Linked DNA regions of Homo sapiens: all the other regions are linked to region 2. Evidence: promoter capture Hi-C in human tissues and cell types (Jung and others, 2019). All regions are on one chromosome and are shown on one strand. Each heading gives the region's core, a stretch centred on a gene start or on the middle of the fragment in contact. The rest is flanking DNA. Distances are from core to core; before and after follow the strand shown. Region 1 overlaps GTSE1 (G2 and S-phase expressed 1). Region 2 holds the start of ATXN10 (ataxin 10). Region 3 has its middle 75 kb from the start of NUP50-DT. Region 4 overlaps TRMU (tRNA mitochondrial 2-thiouridylase).

Region 1 (4,786 bases), core at 2,105-4,604, 640 kb after region 2:
AACAAGGTGAGTTGGCTGCTGGGGCCCAAACTTGTGGTTGCTGGGAATGAGGTGGCAGCTGTGTGTACAAGTGCTTTGGATTAAAATCCCAGCATTTTGGGAGGCCAAGGTGGGAGGATCACTTGAGCCCAGGAGTTCAAGACCAGCCTGAGCAACATGATGAAACCCATCTCTACAAAAAATACAAAAATTAGCTGGGCATGGTGGTGAGCAACGGCAGTCCCAGCTACTCAGGAGGCTGAGGTGGGATGATTGCTTGAGCCCAGGAGGTCGAGGCTGCAGTGAGTCATAATCACGCCACTGCACTCCAGGTTGGGTGACAGAATGAGACCCTGTCTCAAAAAAAAAAAAAAAAAAGAGGTGGAAAAGTTGAAAATACACCCACAAGAGGCAGCCTGCAAAATACATGCAAAGAATACTGGCTTCGCAGTGTGCACTGATGGCTAGCCTCTGCCCTGGGAGCTGTGTGGGTTGGGAAAAGTCAGCGTCTCGGAGCCCCAGTTTGTAGGTGGGGATATTCCGTTTCCCTCATGTAGAGTTCTTGAACAGATGACATGAGATGTTGATGTTTTGAAAACAGCAGCTGGGTGCAGTGGCTCACACATGTAATCTCAGCACTTTGGGAGGCTGAGGCGGGAGGATCACTTGAGCCCAGGAGTTTGAGACCAGCCTGGGCAACATAGTGAGGCCCCCATCTCCATTAAAAAATAAAAATCAGCCAGGCATGGTGGTGCATGCCTGTGGTCCCAGCTATTTGGGAGGTTGAGGTGGGAGGATTGCTTGAGCCCAGGAGGTCAAGGCTGCAGTGAGCTGTGATCATGCCACTGCATTCCATTCCAGCCTGGGCAACAGAGTGAGACCCTGTCTAAAAAAAAAAAAAAAAAAAAGGAAAAGAAAGAAAATTGCGGTTCCTCACAGGCATGGAGACTACCAGCCACATCTTTGCCACTTATTTTCTGGCATTGGCGGTAAACCAAGCTGTGTGTACTGGCAGTTCTTGTTAGAACTGCCCAAAGCTGGGCCCTGCAGCTGCTGACTCATGGGGTCTGGGTTGGGGCCCCAAATCTGCATTTCTGCTAGCTCCCTAATGTGGTCCTCATGCAGGGGTTTGAAGACTACACTTTGAGAAGTGCTGCTTGACTTTTTTCTTCTTTAAATTCAAGATGATAATTATTAGATTATTTTAAAATAGTAAAAACACCAACTTTTGTTGTTGTTGTTGTTGTTGAGACGGAGTCTCACTCTGTCGCCCAGGCTGGAGTGCAATGGCACGAGCTCAGCTCACTACAACCTCCACCTCCCGGGTTCAAGCAATTCTCCTACCTCAGCCTCCCGAGTAGCTGGGACTACAGGTGCCTGCCACCATGCCCAGCTAGTTTTTATATTTTTAGTAGAGACAAGGTTTCACCATATTGGCCAGGCTGGTCTCAAACTCCTGACCTTGTGATCCTCCGGCCTCAGCCTCCCAAAGTGCTGGGATTACAGGCGTGAGCCACCGTGCCCAGCCAAAAACCCCTTACTTTTGCAGACACAAGTAATAGGTAAATAACGAGATCTTTGCTGATTCTGTTTTTTCACATTTTGCCCCAGTTGGGGCTGAAGAAGACCCTGTTAAAAGCACCCGGCTCTACCAGCAATCTCGCAAGGAAGTCCTCCTCGGGGCCTGTTTGGAGCGGGGCATCCAGTGCGTGCACATCCCCAGCAGTGGGCAAAGGTGAGGCAGCCGGCATCATGCTTGGACCCACATCTGGCCAGGTGAGGCCTGGAGTGCTGCTCAGGCCTTGGAGACTGTTTCTGCAGAACCACTTAGGCTTGGCAGGACGTCCCGGAGGGCGTGCTGTGTGCGGTGGACCAGGCTGTGGACTGAGTTGCTGTACCTGCCCTCAGTGCCTCTGTCCCATGAGGAGGGCACACTCAGATGGGTGGCTTCAGTCTACGGGGTACACATGGCCAGAAAGCATGTATGATACCCCGTGCCTGAGAACATGGACACTGGAATCACCCTCATGTCCATGTCATGAGACACCAGTTTTAAAATAGGACTATTCCAGATAATGTAGGGCATATGGCCCCATAACTCCTGGGTGCCTGTTTAAATCCATGCTCCCACACCTGTTTGAGGTCAAGCCACATTTCAACCTTGCCAAGCCACAGCTGCCATCTAGTGGTAAGGGAAAGCCTTCGCCTTTCTGCTCTTCAGAGCGAAATCCTCTTCGAGGTGCATTGGCCATGTGGCGTCTCGGGGTCGTTCAGGGCAGCATGGTGTGGATTGTGTTCACAAAATGTAAAAAGTGGGCCGGGCGCAGGGGCTCACGCCTGTGATCCCAGCACTTTGGCAGGCCAAGATGGGTGGATCGCTTGACCCCTGGAGTTTGAGACCAGCCTGGCCAACATGGTGAAACCCTGTCTCTACTAAAAACACAAAAACTAGCCGGGCATGGTGGCGGGTGCCTGTAGTCCCAGCTACTCGGGAGACTGGGCCACGAGAATGGCTTGAACGCGGGAGGCAGAGGTTACCATGAGCCGAGATTGCATCACTGCACTCCGTCTCAAAAAAAAAAAAAAAAATGATAAGTGTGAACTCTCTAATCAGATTGATCTGATCTGGAATTCTGACTCTGCCATTCTGTGATTAAGAGAGGTTTGTGTCCTTATCTTTATAGACTGAGGTGATGACCTCCTGAGATCAAGCAATCCTCCCACCTCAGCCTCCTGAGTAGCTGGGACTACAGGCACATGCCACCACACCCGGCTAATTTTTGTGGGTTTTTTTTTTTTGAGATGGAGTCTCACTCTATTGCCAGGTTGGAGTGCAGTGGCGCAATCTTGGCTCACTACAACCTCTGCCTCCCGGGTTCGAGTGATTCTCCTGCCTCAGCCTCCCAAGTAGCTGGGACTACAGGCACCTGCCACCACGCCCGGCTAATTTTTGTATTTTTAGTAGTGACGGGGTTTCACCATGTTGGCTAGGATGGTCTCGATCTCTTGACCTCGTGATCCGCCCGCCTTGGCCTCCCAAAGTGCTAGGATTACAGGCACGAGCCACTGCGCCTGGCCCACATTTTTGTGTTTTTTGTAGAGAGGATGGTCTCACTATATTAGCCAGGCTGGTCTCGAACTCCTGGCCTTGAGTGATCTCTTGCCTTGGCCTCCCAAAGTGTTTGGATTACAGGCGTGAGCCACCACTCCTGGGCTAAAGTTTTTCTTTAAGAATCCTTTACCAGATCGTCTGCGTATATTGGTAGCTCAGTATGTATTACCCTAGTTTATCTGGTCTTCTATTTTAAATAGTGCTTATGGTTAATATGACGCAGCCTCCTTGTAATTTTAAAGGAATCAACCAGTAACAATTGCGTCTTTTTTCCTTGTTCCCTGCCCACCTCTGTGACCAGACAGGTGAGACATGTGACTAGACTATCCCCTTCCATCTGCTCAACTAATGTAGATTTCTCCTGCCAACATAATCAACGAAGATAGGAGAGCTTGAATTTATGCATGCTTATGTACATGTTAGTAATTATTTTGAGAATAAGTACCTTAGAATACACTCAGCTAAGCTAAAAGCTGCCTGAGCCATCCTGTGTTTGATGATGTTGCCTGAAGGGCTTATAGAATATTGTTAATGTGTCTTATGTTTAAGGTAGATATGCTAAAGACAGCATAACTTCTGTGTGTTTGTTAAATAGCTTCATACTTTTATAATAATGTGATTTTTGTGTGTATACCTTCTAGCTAAATCAAGTGAATTTGCAAGTATTCCTGCAAATAGCTCCCGGCCTCTGTCAAACATCAGCAAGTCAGGCAGAATGGGACCCGCCATGCTGCGGCCAGCTCTGCCTGCAGGCCCTGTGGGGGCATCCTCCTGGCAGGCCAAGCGGGTCGATGTTTCTGAGCTGGCAGCGGAGCAGCTCACGGCACCCCCCTCAGCATCCCCCACCCAACCCCAGACTCCGGAAGGTGGCGGCCAGTGGCTGAACTCCAGTTGCGCTTGGTCAGAATCTTCTCAATTGAATAAGACTAGAAGTATCAGACGGCGAGATTCCTGTCTAAATTCCAAGACAAAGGTTATGCCTACTCCTACAAATCAATTTAAAATTCCTAAGTTTTCTATTGGTGAGTAATAGATACATTTTAATGTGTCTTTAAAAAATACTGAAGAAATTGCATTTAAAGTTTTAAACAATTATTGATGGCATTGATGGTGTTTTTAGTTCTTTCCTCCAACAGTGCTTTCAGGTGTGACCCGCTGTCTTCTCGCCCACGTTGTTTTGGGGGGTCACTGGAGGCTCCCTGAATGTCTTACGTTCGTTCCTGTGTGTGTGACACCCCAATGCTCGTAGGCTGCTTGTAAGGTTTTCTCTTTAGTGTTACTGTCGGGAATTTGATTATTATGTGCTTTGAGGTGGCTTTCTTTGCCTTTATCCCGCTGAGGGTTTCTTAAGCTTCTTTGATCTGTGGGTTGGTTTTTTTCAGCAAATTTGGAAAACGTTGGCCATTATTTCTTCAGCTATCTTTTCCTCTTTCCACTTTATTTCCTAGGACTCTAATCACATCTATTTCAGGCCTCTTGACGTTGTCTCACAGGACACCGAAGCTCTGTTCTTTTTTTTATTTCAGCCTTTTTTCTTTTTCTTATCTTTTTTCTTTTCTTTCTTTCTTTTTTTTTGTTTTTTGTTTTTTGAGACGGAGTCTCGCTCTGTCACCCAGGGTGGAATGCAGTGGCGCGATCTCAGCGCACTGTAACCTCCACCTACCGAGTTCAAGCAATTCTCCTGCCTCAGCCTCC
Region 2 (4,542 bases), core at 1,965-4,464:
GGAAATAAGGAAGCAAGTCATGGAGATGTTTGTGAGGAGTTGTTCTATACAAAAACAAAAACAAAAACACCAGCATATACAAACTCCTAAGGCAGGAGAGTTCTTTTCCTGGTGGAGTTATGGGATTTAAAAAAAAAAAAGGAAAAACAAAACTTTATCTGAGGAATATGATCTCCTTTAAATGATCGGGCCTAGAGAAGCATTGGAATGAAACACCAATCATGTCTCTCCTCCTTGAGCTGAATACTTACCTCTTTTCAAAAGGAATTATTACTATTTTTTAAAGACAGGGTCTCTCTCTATTACCCAGGCTGGACTGCAGTGGTGTGGTAATAGCTCACTGAGGCCTTCAACTCCTAGGCTCAATGAATCCTCCCATTTCAGCCTCTGGAGTAGCTGGGACTATTGCCATGTACCACCATGCCTAATTTTTTAAAAATTTTTTCGTAGAGATGGGGGGTCTCACACTATGTTGTGCAGGCTGGTCTCAGACTCCTGGGCTCAAGCAATCCTCCTGCCTCAGCCACCCAAAGCACTGAGACTACAGGCATGAGCCACCATGCCTGGCCTAATTACCTCTTGAAGCCACATTCTATTTGGCCTCTAGACGAACTGATGTCAACTAGCTACACAATGGCATACAATCTATAGTTCAACATTGTACAGCCAATCATTAACCAACATTATTTCTTAAACCAATGAGAATTCATGACAAACAACCTTTTAAATCACCCTCTCTCCTGATTCGTCCTTTTTTCTTTAAAAAGTTGAGCTTCTCTTTCGTTCTCCAGAGCACTCCCCAAGGCAACTTGGATGTGTGTCCTGGACTGCAATGCTCACGTTGGCCCAAATAAACTCTTTATATTGATTTTACCTCAGCTTATTCCTTTTAAATAGACAGAGGACAATAAGGAGGTCAGTATGGCTGAAGCACAATGGAAGAGGAAGAGGCTAGTAGATGTGATTAGAGCCCACAGGGGCTGGAGGTGATGGCGAAGGAGGAGGCAGGTCATTTAGGGGCTTTTCTATTGGAAGAACTTGGCTTTTACTCTGAGTGAAATGGAAATCCCTTAGAGGGTTTTGGGCAGAGTTAAATGTTGAAATATTTTTTAAACGATCTAAAACGTAAGGAAGCAAGAGCAGAGGCCAAAAGACCAATCAGGAATATATTACAATATTCCAGGCAAGAAGTATGAATATTATAGGGAATGTTTTTCTGGGAATGTTACATTTGAGAATAAGAAAACTAAAGGCCAGGTTTTTTTGTTTGTTTGTTTGAGACAGAGTCTCCCTCTGTTGCCCAGGCTGGAATGCAGTGGTATGATCTCAGCTCAGTGCAACGTGTGCCTTCCAGGTTCAAGCAATTCCCTTGTCTCAGCCTCCCAAATGGCTGGGACTACAGGCACCCGCCACCATGCCTGGCTAATTTTTAGTAGAAAGGGGGTTTTGCCATGTTGGCCAGACTGATCTTGAACTCCTGACCTCAAGTGATCTGCCCGCCTCGGCCTCCCAAAGTGCTGGGATTACAGGCATGAGCCACCGTGTCTGGCCTAAAGATCAGGATTTTGGTGCATAACAAGTACATTTTACTATCCTGTGCTCCTCAAGGGAAAATTAAGAGATTTTTGCCCTGTTAGCTTAAGGAGTGTTAAACATTTTGCATTGTCTTGAGCACTGCTACTAATAAGTGATCTAATACCTGGCACATAGTACACCGCAATATTCGTGGAATGAATAAATACATACTCAATTAAATGGGTAAACTGAATGACAATATCAAGTAACTTGCTTGTGCAGCAGCATTCATTTCCCTCCCTCCTTTTTTTTTTTTTTTTTTTTTTTTTTTGATACAGGGTATCATTCTGCCACCCAGGCTGGAGTGCAGTGGTGTGATCACAGCTCACTGCAGCCTCGACCTCCTGGGCTCAAGTAATCCTCCTGCCTTGGCCACCCAAAGTGCTGGGATTACAGGCATGAGCCACCATGCCCCACCAGGATTCACTTTTTCTGCATACTCTGGTGGTGTTTATTGTTATCTTTACATTTTATTTAGCAAAGAATGTTAAAAGCGCCATGTTATAAGCACACTCCTACCCTCCAAGCAGAATGTAAAGGGTATGTATTTATATATTTTAAGTGGTCCCACAGCAATTTGTACAGTTATAGCAGTTCACAACTATACTCAGTTATGTTTGCTTCTCTCCTTCTCAATAGTCTGTGAGGTTCCTTCAGGTTTGGAACTGTCTTTTATTAATCTTTACATCTCCAGCACCTAGCGCAGGGCTTAGCAACAATTTTTGTTGAAAGTATATACACTGTAATAAAGGGCAGTGGAAAGAAAATATGTGAGTTATCAACACCAGCTAGAGAAGCCTTGTCTGATTCCTGTGAAATATATTCATTTCCCTTAGGAAAAAAAACAATTCTAACCCTATTGCTGTGTAACTTAGCTTCTTGACTTCGAACGGTATTTTAAGGCTTTGAGGAGCTGGAGCAATGTATACTCACTAGAGGCAAAGTGCCTGGTAAGTGGTCTGGTATTGATCAGCAATGATCAGTAAGTACTGGGAAGTGCGTTTTCAGGGCCTGAGACTTGCAAGCTAGTGACAGACCGCTCCAGCTTCCAGTGGACCCGGGCGGGGGCACTGATCAACCCACTTGAGCAGTGGGATCAAGGTCTTCAGCCTTAGCAGTGGGAGCCTCTGCCCGGCCCCCTTCGTTCCCGAGACCCTCAGTCAGCGTCTCCTCCCAAGAGGGTCCCCTCCACCCAGAATGTCCTCCCCTGGGGGAGACCACTCTGTCTGCGGGCCCCCTCCCACAGGAGGGCCCCTCTTCCTCAAGGTGAACCTCTGTCCCCGATACCCGCTCCCAAGACCGAGACCTTGTTACGGCCCCACCCTCCACAGGCCCCTTACCCCCCGGATCCCCTCCCCTGGGGGAGACCCCTCTGTCCGCGGGCACCCTCCTATAGGACGCGCCCCTCTTTCTCAGGGTGAACCTCTGGTTCCCGATACCCGCTCCCAAGACCGAGACCCTGTTACGGCCACATCAACACAGGTCCCCCTCCCCCCGGCGTCCCCTCCCCTCGGAGGAGCCCCGTCTGCGACGCTTCCCAGTCAATCACCCCCAGCATCCCTCCCCGCTCTCACCCAGAACTTCCGCCGCGCCCCCTCCCCTCAGGCGGGACTTCCGCCGGCGCCCCCTCCCCCGCGGCGCCGTCTCCTCCTCCCGCCTGAGGCGAGTCTGGGCTCAGCCTAGAGCTCTCCGGCGGCGGCGCAGCTTCAGGGCAGCGCGGGCTGCAGCGGCGGCGGCGGTTAGGGCTGTGTAGGGCGAGGCCTCCCCCTTCCTCCTCGCCATCCTACTCCTCCCTCCTCGTCATCCTCCCCCTTCGTCCTCCTCGCCTTCCTCCTCCTCGTCAGGCTCGACCCAGCTGTGAGCGGCAAGATGGCGGCGCCCAGGCCGCCGCCTGCCAGGCTGTCGGGCGTCATGGTGCCGGCGCCCATCCAAGACCTGGAGGCCCTGCGCGCGCTCACGGCGCTCTTCAAAGAGCAGCGGAACCGGTAACGGGTCCGGCCGGGGGGCTGCCCCGGGCAGGGGAGGGCGGCCGGGACTCCCGCGGCGGCCCCGGCCTGGACCCAGGCGCCGCCCCCGCCTCGCTGGAGACGCGGAGGGCGAGGCCTGCGCGGGCTGCCTGAGCGCCACCCAGGCCTCCCGACTCCCAGGCACCGCCTCGTGCTCGTGGGTCCCCGCGGGGCCTGGGGCGGGCGCCCCGCTCCCCCACCGCAGCCAGTCCGGGTGCGAAGCCGCGATCCCGGGAGCCCTTGCCGCGGCGTGCCGGTGATGTTGACCCAACACACGGTTAGGCCTCCCCTGTCATGTGCGAGGGCTGCGCCAGGCCCTGGCTGCAAGACCCACGCGGCCCCCAGAGTCATAAAGCGTGTGTTTTAGCGGGAGAGACCCGTGTTACGGACGCGGGAATTGGGCAGTTGCGGGGATGGCAGTCTCTAGGCATGGAGTGGGACTGGCACTCCTTTCTCCTCGGCGTTAGAGCCCAGGCTGCACCATCTGCCCTGGGGGCAGCGCTCTGTGCAGTGTGGAAGAGCACGGGCCTGGAGAGACCAGTCCAGTCCTGATGCCACTGAGGGGCAAGATAGCCAGGCAAAAAGAGAAGGTGCCCAGGAGTCGACAGTTGTGGATTTGGTTCCTGGCCTTGCAAGCTGCGTGTTACTGTGCAGTTTCTCCAGGCCTTAGAATTCTTGTCTAAAAATGGGACTATAATACACAGCTTAGTTGCTGGATTGTACAGAGGAATAAATGAAATAAAGTACGTGAAAATATAAAATGTGCGAAGCCCTCAGTCAATGCTTGTTTGATCTTGTTCTGTCCTCTGGGCCTCAGTTTTCTTGTCTATTTAATGGGAGTAAAGTTGAACAGTACCTCCCTGGTGATAGTGTCATAAGGAGTAAATGAGATATAATGCATATTAAATCCTTAGGACATACCTGTACATAGCACTAAATGTAGCTGATATTATCACTTAAC
Region 3 (4,923 bases), core at 772-3,271, 580 kb before region 2:
TGAGTTCCTGGCCATGACAGGACAGGTCAGACACGGCTCATCAGATTTTCTCCTTTTTATGGTTTAAAGCACATAGTAAGTGCTTTTAAGTACCAATTAATATGTCTCAGTCAGGCTGGGCACGTGGCTCACGCTTGCAATCCCAGCACTCTGGGAGGCTGACGTGGGTGGATCATGAGGTCAGGAGTTTGAGACCAGCCTGTCCAACATGGTGAAACCCCGTCTCTACTAAAAATTCAAAAATTAGCTGGGCGTGGTGGCACATACCTATAGTCCCAGCTACTCGGGAGGCTGAGGCAGGAGAATCGCTTGAACCTGGGAGGCGGGGGTTGCAGTGAGCTGAGATCATGCCACTGCACTCCAGGTTGGTGACAGAGCAAGACTCTGTCTCAAAAAAATAAAAATAAAATAAAATAGTATGTCCCAGTCAAACAAACAGCACAAACAACAACTGGCCAGCATTAATGCTAGAATAGACATCATAAGAGAGACAGAACAGACTCTTTGTGACAAAAAGATACCAAATTGTAAACAGGACCTATGGTCACAAGGGTTGAATGCTGCGCCCCTACACTTAAAAAACAGACGAGGAGCCAGGTGCAGTGGCTCACGCCTGTAATCCCAGCCCTTTGGGAGGCCGAAGTGGATGGATCATGAGGTCAAGAGTTCAAGACCAGCCTGGCCAACATAGTGAAACCCTGTCTCTACTAAAAATATAAAAACTAGCTGGGTGTGGTGGCACATGCCTGTAGTCCTAGCTACTTGGGAGGCTGAGACAGGAGAATTGCTTGAACCCGGGAGGTGGACGTTGCAGTGAGCTGAGACCATGCCATTGCACTCCAGCCTAGGCGACAGAGTGAGGCTCCATCTCGAAAAAAAAAAAAATTAAAAAACAAAAAACAAAACAAACAAACAAACAAAAAAATGAGGTTCTACCTGCCACAAGGTTTTTCCTTGTTCTCCAGCAGCTAAATAAGCCCTGGCCTCAAGATGAGCAAGATTCAAACACTTGCAACTCATCTAGCTCCCAGATGCTAACTAATGACCTCCTGTTCCACCAGCCCTAATTCCAGCTTTGACTGGACAAGACACTGGTTTCTGTAACTTTCTCCTGATAAGAAGGCCACCCACCATGGACTGGCACCGGCGGGTTTACAGAGTGCACTTTCAGGCCTTCCTGTCCTGAAAGGATCTTTTGGGCCTGATTGTAATACATTTAAATGTGGAGTCTCCATCCCAAAGTGAACATGGGTCACCTGTGACGTGCATGATTATTCAGTACGCATGAGTCAGGACACCTTCATGAATATTCATAGCTCCTCCTGTAACCTGTTGAATATGTATGATTAGCCAGCCTGGTCAGGCCCAACCCCTCCTCCTTCAAAGAGCCTGTCTCTGGTCTTGGCCGGAGGTATACTTCCCACCTTGCTCCATGGCCACCTTGCAGGGTGGAACCCTTTAGAAGAAATAAAGTCTCTTCTCTTTTTCTTTTTTTTTTTTAATTGAGGAGGAGTCTGTCTCTGTCACCCAGGCTGGAGTGCAGTGGTGCAATCTCAGTTCACTGCAACTTCTACCTCCCGGGTTCAAGCCACTCTCCTGCCTCAGCCTCCCAAGTAGCTGGGACTACAGGCATGTGCCACCACGCCTGGCTAACTTTTTGTATTTTTAGTAGATACAGGGTTTCACCGTGTTAGCCAGGATGGTCTCGATCTCCTGACCTTGTGATCCACCCACCTAGGCCTCCCAAAGTGCTAGGATTACAGGCGTGGGCCACCACGCCCGGCCAGTCTTCTCTCTTTTTCTAAATGTGTATATAGTGATTTATTTTTAAGTGAACAGGGAGAAGAAGGATGCACTGATGAAGCTCTTTGCCTTAAGCGGATTTGGAATTGAGAAAGGTCACTCTAGTAGATGGGGTGGAAGAGAGGTCTGAGAAGCCAGCCAAATATACAATTTAGAAAACAGGTTTTGACACATATAGCGTTACCCAGGGCCACAACTTCTTGAGTAAGAAACCTGATGAGGATTACAGATGTTTTGGAGATTGAAGGCAGCTTTCCCAGGGCATAGCAACAACCTCTGAAGATCTCTTTCTTGGAAACATTGGCCAGGATGGTTTATGATGCAGAATAACACCTGCTTTGCTGCAGCTGCAGGAGAGGAGGGCCCCCTTTCTCCATAGCTGGCTGAGGTTTCTGTCTCTAGCAGTCAGGTTCAAAGCCAAGTACTGGAGTTCTCCTAGCATGAGAGGGAATGAGACAAGGCTGAGAGGCTCCAAACGTGTCATAAGGAGAGGAGACCAGGGGCAGAAGGTTGTCGATCAATGGAATGTTGTGTATGCCATGTTTTGCATTGGCAGTGATCAATAAATATTGGATGAATGAACAAGACAGGGATTCAGGGACAGTTCACCAGGGTCTGAGCAAGACCTGCAGCACAGCCAGCTCACCCTGTCTAGCCCTCAAAGCACCCATGAGGCTCATTCCACAGGGACAGCTGCACCTGAGCTTGAGCTGGGGACAGACTTTAAGGGGTTGGTGAGTGGCCCAGTCACAAAGGGAGGAAGGTTTTATCCAAAGGCCATTCATTTCTATACTCCCTCTTTCCACCTAGTAAGTTTGTTTCTAAATATCTTTGTCACCTTCTGTCACTGTCATATTGCAGGACTCAGCATGTATGGGAAAAGATGTAAAATATCTCATTAATAATTTCTGTGTGGACTAGGTGCAGTGACTCACGACTCTAATCCTAGAGCTTTAGGAGACAGAGGCAGGAGGATTGCTGGAGGCCGATTTCAAGACCAGCCTGGACAACATAGCAAGAGCCCGTCCCTATAAAAAATTTAAAAATTAGCTGGGCATGGTGGTGCACATCTGTGGTCCCAGCTACTCAAGAGGCTGAGGCAGGAGGATCTCTTGAGCCCAGGAGGTTGAGGCTGCAGTAAGCCATAATCATGTCACTGCACTCCAGCCTGGGTGACAGAGCAAGACCTTGTGTCTAAAAAATAACAACAATAATACAAATTTGTATGTGGATTGCATGTTGAATGGATAATATTTCAGATATATTGAACTAAGATGAAGATTAAAGTTAATTTCACTTTGGCTAGGCACAACGGCTTACTCCTATAATCCCAGCAATTTGGGAGGCCAAGGCAGGAGGATCACTTGAGCCCAGGACTCCGAGACCAGCCTGGGCCACACAGCAAACCCCATCTCTACAAAAAATACAAACATTAGCTGGGTGTGCTGGCGTGCACCTATAGTCACAGCTACTTGGGAGGCTGAGGTGGGAGGATTACTTGAGCCCAGGAGGCCGAGGCTGCAGTGAGCTATGAATGAGCCACTGCATTCCATCCTCGGTGACAGAGCAAGACTGTCTCAAAATTAAAATAAAATTAAATTAACTTCATTTGATTTTTTCTCTCTTTAATGGGGCTTCTGGAGAATTTTAAATGGCCAATGTGGCTCACTTCTCTGGACAGTGCTGGTCTAGAGTTGCTTGCAGCTGTACAAATCGTTCTTTTTTTTTTTTTTTTTTTTTTTTTGAGATGGAGTCTCACTCTGTCACACAGGCTGGAGTGCAATGGCATGATCTTGGCTCACTGCAACCTCCGCCTCTCGGGTTCAAACTATTCTCCTGCCTCAGCCTCCCAAGTAGCTGGGACTACAGTCATGTGCCACCATGCCTGGCTAATCTTTTGTATTTTTAGTAGAGATGGGGTTTCACCATGTTGGCCAGCCAGGCTGGTCTCGAACTCCCAACCTCAAGTGATCCACCCTCCTCGGCCTCCCAAACTGCTGGGATTACAGGAGTGAGACACCGCACCCAGCCCTTATCTGCTTTTTGACTGAAGTTTATTTACAGGAGACAAACACCATTCCCTCCACAATTAAGGCTAAAGGCCAACCCTAGCAAGCAGAGAGAACTAATTAAAAAGTCTGAGAGTTGGAATTGTGTTTGTATTTCTCCCGTCAACTCGAATAATCGGTTTGCATTCTCCTCTCCCAGATTCCTGAGAAGCCACGGCTGCCGATGACTCCGACGAGTGTTTGCATTTCCAGAGCCTGTGAAGTTCTGTGCCTGCAGCTACGGACTTGGCCTGTTGGCGTTTTCATAGTCTTGCCCTTGCAAACAAGGCAATCAGTCTACTAAGTTAACAAAAGCTTACCATTCACAGTAAAAGCAAAAGAAATGAAAAAAAAAAATGTAAGGAGCCCTCCGGTAAGTGATTTTCCTATTGCTTCTGTCTACTGAGATAGTGATTTCTTTGGTTCTCGTGACCAACCACACACACACACACACACACACACACACCCCTCTATAGAAGAAATGTGTGAAACTCATGCTTCCAGTAACAATCTATACATTGATTTTTTTTTCCTCTGCATCAAAATATGTCACCCTTCAAAGCTTGGGCCCCAACCAATAGAAACTAAAATCCAGTTCCAGAGAAATCTATGGCTGCTAATTAAACTCTTACTCAAAGCAAAACATAAAGGATTTACCTCTTGATTCTTCTAGTTAGTGCTGATGGATTATTTCCTTTACACGTGTTTTAAAATCGCAGCTTACCGGCTGCAGGTGGTTTCTGTGGACCCTGAACCACCTGGTTCCCTCAAGTGTGCACCTGCACGCGGCACCGTCCCACACAGAGGGTGGACCTGCAGAGCTCAGGCAGGGAGGTGGGCGTCTACGCGGATTCACTCGACACGCTGATGGGACACGCTCACGGCGTGCGGAGGCCAGGAGGGAAAGGGTCAGGGCCAGGCACAAAGTCTGAGTCGGGGAGGGGCAAGTTCGTGGCAAGAAAGCCCCACCCAGAGACAGGTCGAGAGAGCAGGTGCCCTGTAAAGTGGGGCGCTCCGGGTTCTTGTCCTGCCTCTGCCGCTCGCTCGCTGACGACCTGGGAGAAGTCGCTAA
Region 4 (5,001 bases), core at 774-3,273, 670 kb after region 2:
AGTCTTAGATAGTAACTAGAAATAACTTTTGAAAAGAGTTTCCTTTTTTGATAACTGAATGGTGCTTTGAAAAATTTTGTTGAGTTTCGACTATTCCTTCGTGTATTCCACACACACTGGCTGATCCCCTCCTGCTAGGTATTGTGCTGATACATAGATGGGGACACAAAGATGAGAAAATACCACCTCGTTAATCTTGGGGACTCAGGCACCAAGATGGAAACCGGATCCCTGAAGCCACATGGCAAAGCAGGGACTGCCCGGCAGGCCAGGCACAGAGGCACAGGAGCACAGCGTGTGGGGAACTTCTCAGAGCTCAGAAATCACTGCCGTTTTACCGAAGGTTGATTTATGTATTCTCTTTAATTGACCTTCCCGCCCGCAGGTTACCAGGTGACAGGGGTGTTTATGAAGAACTGGGACTCACTGGATGAACATGGGGTCTGTACTGCCGACAAAGACTGTGAAGATGCTTACAGAGTTTGCCAGATCTTAGACATCCCTTTCCATCAAGTGTCCTACGTAAAGGAGTATTGGAATGATGTGTTCAGGTGAGTGCGGGTCACAGCACAAAGGAAGCTTCCTCACACTGTGGATCCTTGCAGTGGAAGGATCCGGTAACCAGCCAGACCGACGCCTGTGCTGCAGCCCAGCGCTCTCCCTCCACGGTGGTGCTGAAGACTGCAAGAGGCCTCAGCCACCCTCGGGGCTCTGTGTTAGAGGCGAGGCCTGGACCCCACAGCACACCCAGCTCTCTCACTCCTGTCATTTTGCCACTTGCCTGAAGTCTCTTTAATGCTTTCTTGGACCTTGAGCTGTTTCTGTTGCCCAGTTAGGATAGGGGAGCTAAGGCTGAGGGCTCCCCTGGAAGGTGAGCACCAATGCCTGTGTGCTATGTGGGTCAGCGATTAGGGGATTTCTGAGAAAGAGGTGATACATGGCCTGTGCCTCTGAAAACAAGAAACAAACAAAAACTTTTCTAAAATCCAATATAATCTCAATAATTAAGTGCTGTGTGCTAGGCGTGTGCCACATCTAGGAACATTAAGATGTCTTCACTGTGACCTGGCTCTGTAGGAGTTTGCGGTCTAGTTGGGAGGACATTATCTTCACAAGAGGTGACAGTGATGCGTGGCACGCAGGAAGTACCAGTGATGCTATCAGTCACTGAACCCAGAGGAGGGAGAAACTTGCAGTGTGGAGTAATCAAGAAGGCTTCACCGGAGAGGAGGGGTTGCAAACAAAGTTGTAGAGAAGGGACTCCAAATGGGGTAACGAGAGCAGCGTGAAGGGGAGAAGAAATGCTGATTGTGTATTTCAGGACCGTTGTAAAGTTTGGCTGGACTTTTGTTCCTGCAGTGGAAGGAGTGTAGGGCTCATCCTCTGGTGAGCCCTGACTGTGATGAATGTCGGGCAGTTGTCGAAGGCGTCTGACACAGCAGGCCATGTGCGCGGGACAGGCTGCCCCTGCCTGAGTGGGCTTTAGGGGCAGAAGAGCCTTGGGTTGAGTCCTGACTGTAGCTTATTATATGACCTTGGGCAATTTACTTGACTTTGTTTTTTTAATTGAAAAAAATTCTCTTTTTTTCCTGCCAACAAAGACCCAGAAGAGATACTTGACTTTTCTAAGCCCCAATTTTCTCATCTTTAAAATGAGGATAACACTGATGCCTCACAGGGTTATGAAAGAATTGAGATTAGGTTCTAGTATGTATGCCTGGTATATTAGTAAGCAGTCAATAAACATAGCTGTTTTTCTTTTCTATTTTTTTTTGAGACAGAGCCTCGCTCTGTTGCCCAGGCTGGAGTGCAGTGGCGCAATCTTGGCTCACTGCAACATCTGCCTCCCAGGTTCAAGCGATTCTCATGCCTCAGCCTCCCAAGTAGCTGGGATTATAGGCATGCACCACCACGCCCGGATAATTTTTGTATTTTTAGTAGAGACAGGGTTTCGCCATGTTGGCCGGGCTAGTCTCAGACTCCTGACCTCAGAAGATCCACTCGTCTCAGCCTCCCAAAGTGCTGGGATTACAGGCGTGAGCCACCACGCCAGCCTGCTATTTTTATTTTCATTATTAAAAAGATGAGTCTGGGGAGCTAAGCTATGAGGACGCAAAGGCATAAAAATGATATAATGGACTCTGGGGTGAGGGATAAAAGACTACACATCGGGTACAATGTCCACTGCTTGGGTGACGGGTACACCAAAATCTCAGAAGTCACCACTGAAGAACTTATCCATGTGACCAAATACCAGCTGTTGCCCAAAAAACCATTGAAATAACAATAAAACGAAATTTAGAGAGATTAAGTAAATTGACTATGGTCACCTAAATAATCAACGGAAGAGCTTGAATATGAACCCTCTGTGACTCTATGCTATAACATATGGGTGTCGTATATATTAACAACATGGACAAAACTGATGGCTGAATTTTCCTGGGGAAAGTTACCTGTAGAATGCATGATAAATGCATTAAAAACTTATCTGTAGAATGCATGATAAATGCATTAAAAACTTCTGCAGTTTTCTCGGGGACATAAGAAAAAAAAAAGAGTGTGGCGGCCAAATACAGGATAAATCTGGGGGAAGACCAAAGGCAGAGAGTCTCAGGAAGTGCTGTTGCTGGAGATTTGGACTTCATGGGGAGGGAGTGTGGGAGTGGAAGGTGAGGGCTGGCTTGTTGGACCCAGAGGACAAGTCCACCGGGCAGTAGATCTGAGGTGCTTGTTAAACACAGACCTGGACCGAGGTCTGGGGGCGGCCCTGGAATCTGCTTTAATAAGCACTTCAGCTGTGCTGGTGGTGTGGGGGGTTGTCAGGGTCTTTCTTTGAGAAAAGGTGTGATGCGGCTTAGGGACTGATGTGTGTGGGAGACCAGAGAGGAGAGGAGTCAGCAGTAGTTTCAAGATCAAGGCTGGGTGGCTGGGGAAAGCTGGTTTAGGGGATTCCTCATGAGTACTGTAGAGTTTGAGGGGACAACAGGGAATCCAAGTGAGCTTACACTTCACCTGCCAGCACAGCTTTTTCAGAACGTACGAGTGGATGCGATTTTTGAAGTTTAGCTCAGCTGAGGCCAGATAGGAAGAGTGACTTGAATAGTATGGCAAATTAGGAGCGGAGCTGGGATTAAACCCCAGAATTAGGAGCGGAGCTGGGATTAAAACCCAGAATTAGGAGCGGAGCTGGGATTAAACCCCAGAATTAGGAGCGGAGCTGGGATTAAACCCCAGAATTAGGAGCGGAGCTGGGATTAAACCCCAGAATTAGGAGCGGAGCTGGGATTAAACCCCAGAATTAGGAGCGGAGCTGGGATTAAACCCCAGAATTAGGAGCGGAGCTGGGATTAAACCCCAGAATTAGGAGCGGAGCTGGGATTAAAACCCAGCTTTCCAGGCCAGTGCTTGCTGCCGCCTTCTGGCGCTGCTTGATAGGGACTGAGAGAAGGAGGCGGCCGGGTAGAGTCTTTTCCCATCTCTGGGGCTGCCCCCGAGGTCGCCCCTGGCTCCAGCCAGCCTGCCCTCTGCCCTCGCCCAGTACCAGCTGCCCGTGGAGGCATTGGTCTTTCCGCTGAAGACTCACTTCTCTAGTAGGGCTCTCTAGCTCAGAGATTTCTTTTGCATTCTTTCATTCAAGACCCACTGGCCTTCAAGGATCAGAGTCCAGATACGTTTTAGCTGCTGAGTCTTTTAAATCTGTCTCCCTCCCGAGGCACATGAAAGGCTTCTCTTCTTTCCAGTTAGAGAAGAGGCTGGGCTACTCCATTGTTTTTGCTAATGCCAAAACACACGCCTTCCCATCTGCTGTTTACGAAAGGGTTAACAGTGTGTCTTTTCAGAAACTGATTTTAATGTTCAGCCTCTTCAACATTTATTGATGACTGTGATATAGAAAGTTTGTTGGGTCTAGGACACAGACACAGATTGCACCTTAAGTAGTTTATAGTTTAATGAGCTTCCTGGTAACTTTCTAATAATTAAAGCAAAATGGAAAGAGTGTAATAATATCAAGTGTTGTTGCAAATGTGGAAAAACATGAGTTTTTATGAACTTCTAGGGGGACTGAGAAGTAGGAAAACAGTTTGGTGCCTGCTAAAGTGGAAGATATCCAAGGAACCTCTGACCCTGTGCAGATCTGTGATATGTCTGCAAAACACAAACCTCTTGATCAGCACTGGTTTTTTTTTTAACCCTTGTTGATTAATAGAGAGTTTTAGGTTAAATGAAAAAAATCACTTATACCAAAAATACACCCATTTTTAAACTCCCAAAATAGGCATCATAACCCTCTTGAAGTGAATCCTCGAAGACTATGAAATTCTTGGTAAGTTTTGCTGGTATCATGGCATCTTTTTCCCATGTTCAGTCAGTCTGTTAGAGCAGAAGTTCACTGAATTAGGATAGCCTGATCCACTTTAAGCACCCAAGAGTTTGCTAGTTCTCAGAAGTGTGTGTTTGTCACCTGAGGATAGTATTTTTGGTATATTTGCCCAGTGACGCAGCATTCCAGGCTGAGATTGCAGAATGGCTCATGGAGCCCTTGTGTAGGGAAGCCTCTGACTGTGTTTCTCCTCTGTTCTCATCACGGCAGTCATCCTCACGGAAGAAGGCTTCTGTGACAAAGGTGTGGGGGGTTTTCCCCATACAGCAAGCAGTGGACACCGACTGGGTGTCCTCTGATTCAGTTCCGATACCATCTACTTGGAGATAGTGCTGGATCCCAAAGGTTGGGGGTTCAGTCCCCCAGACGGACTCCCCCCACAACAGCAGTCGAAAGTATGGGCCTCTAGAACTTATGACCAACTGGCTTCCAGTTGGGATTCCCATAACTTCCTCTTTGGGTTCAATTATTAATAATTTGCTGGAGTGGTTCACAGAACTCAGAAAAACACATTTACCAGTTTATTATAAAGGATGTTGCAAAGGATACAGATGAAGAGACGGGTTGGGTGAGGTATGGGGAAAGGGTCATGGAGTGTCCACACCCTCCCTGGGGACCAC

The links. Contacts are between HindIII fragments. The study calls those that stand out against the background at their distance.
Region 1: a contact is called between a fragment that was not itself captured here and the fragment with the promoter of ATXN10 in region 2, in 1 of the 25 tissues and cell types used here (dorsolateral prefrontal cortex).
Region 3: a contact is called between a fragment that was not itself captured here and the fragment with the promoter of ATXN10 in region 2, in 1 of the 25 tissues and cell types used here (bladder).
Region 4: a contact is called between a fragment that was not itself captured here and the fragment with the promoter of ATXN10 in region 2, in 2 of the 25 tissues and cell types used here (dorsolateral prefrontal cortex and pancreas).

What each region holds. Positions count from the first base shown.
Region 1 is chr22:46,312,300-46,317,085 of GRCh38, forward strand. GTSE1 (G2 and S-phase expressed 1) reads left to right here. Exons shown (of 12, transcript NM_016426.7): 5 at 1-6; 6 at 1,591-1,714; 7 at 3,733-4,113. Among named protein-coding and RNA genes, the nearest start is that of GTSE1, 18 kb to the left of the region's middle. The HindIII fragment of the contact is 7,099 bases long and covers 1-4,786 here.
Region 2 is chr22:45,668,620-45,673,161 of GRCh38, forward strand. ATXN10 (ataxin 10) reads left to right here and starts at 3,215. Exons shown (of 12, transcript NM_013236.4): 1 at 3,215-3,560. The coding sequence starts at 3,445. RefSeq lists silencers at 2,888-3,077, 3,138-3,187, 3,518-3,847. The HindIII fragment of the contact is 16,564 bases long and covers 1-4,542 here.
Region 3 is chr22:45,086,692-45,091,614 of GRCh38, forward strand. No RefSeq gene overlaps it. Among named protein-coding and RNA genes, the nearest start is that of NUP50-DT, 75 kb to the right of the region's middle. The HindIII fragment of the contact is 4,535 bases long and covers 1-4,289 here.
Region 4 is chr22:46,337,394-46,342,394 of GRCh38, forward strand. It overlaps TRMU (tRNA mitochondrial 2-thiouridylase), which reads left to right. Exons shown (of 11, transcript NM_018006.5): 2 at 386-551. Among named protein-coding and RNA genes, the nearest start is that of TRMU, 4.2 kb to the left of the region's middle. The HindIII fragment of the contact is 3,759 bases long and covers 145-3,903 here.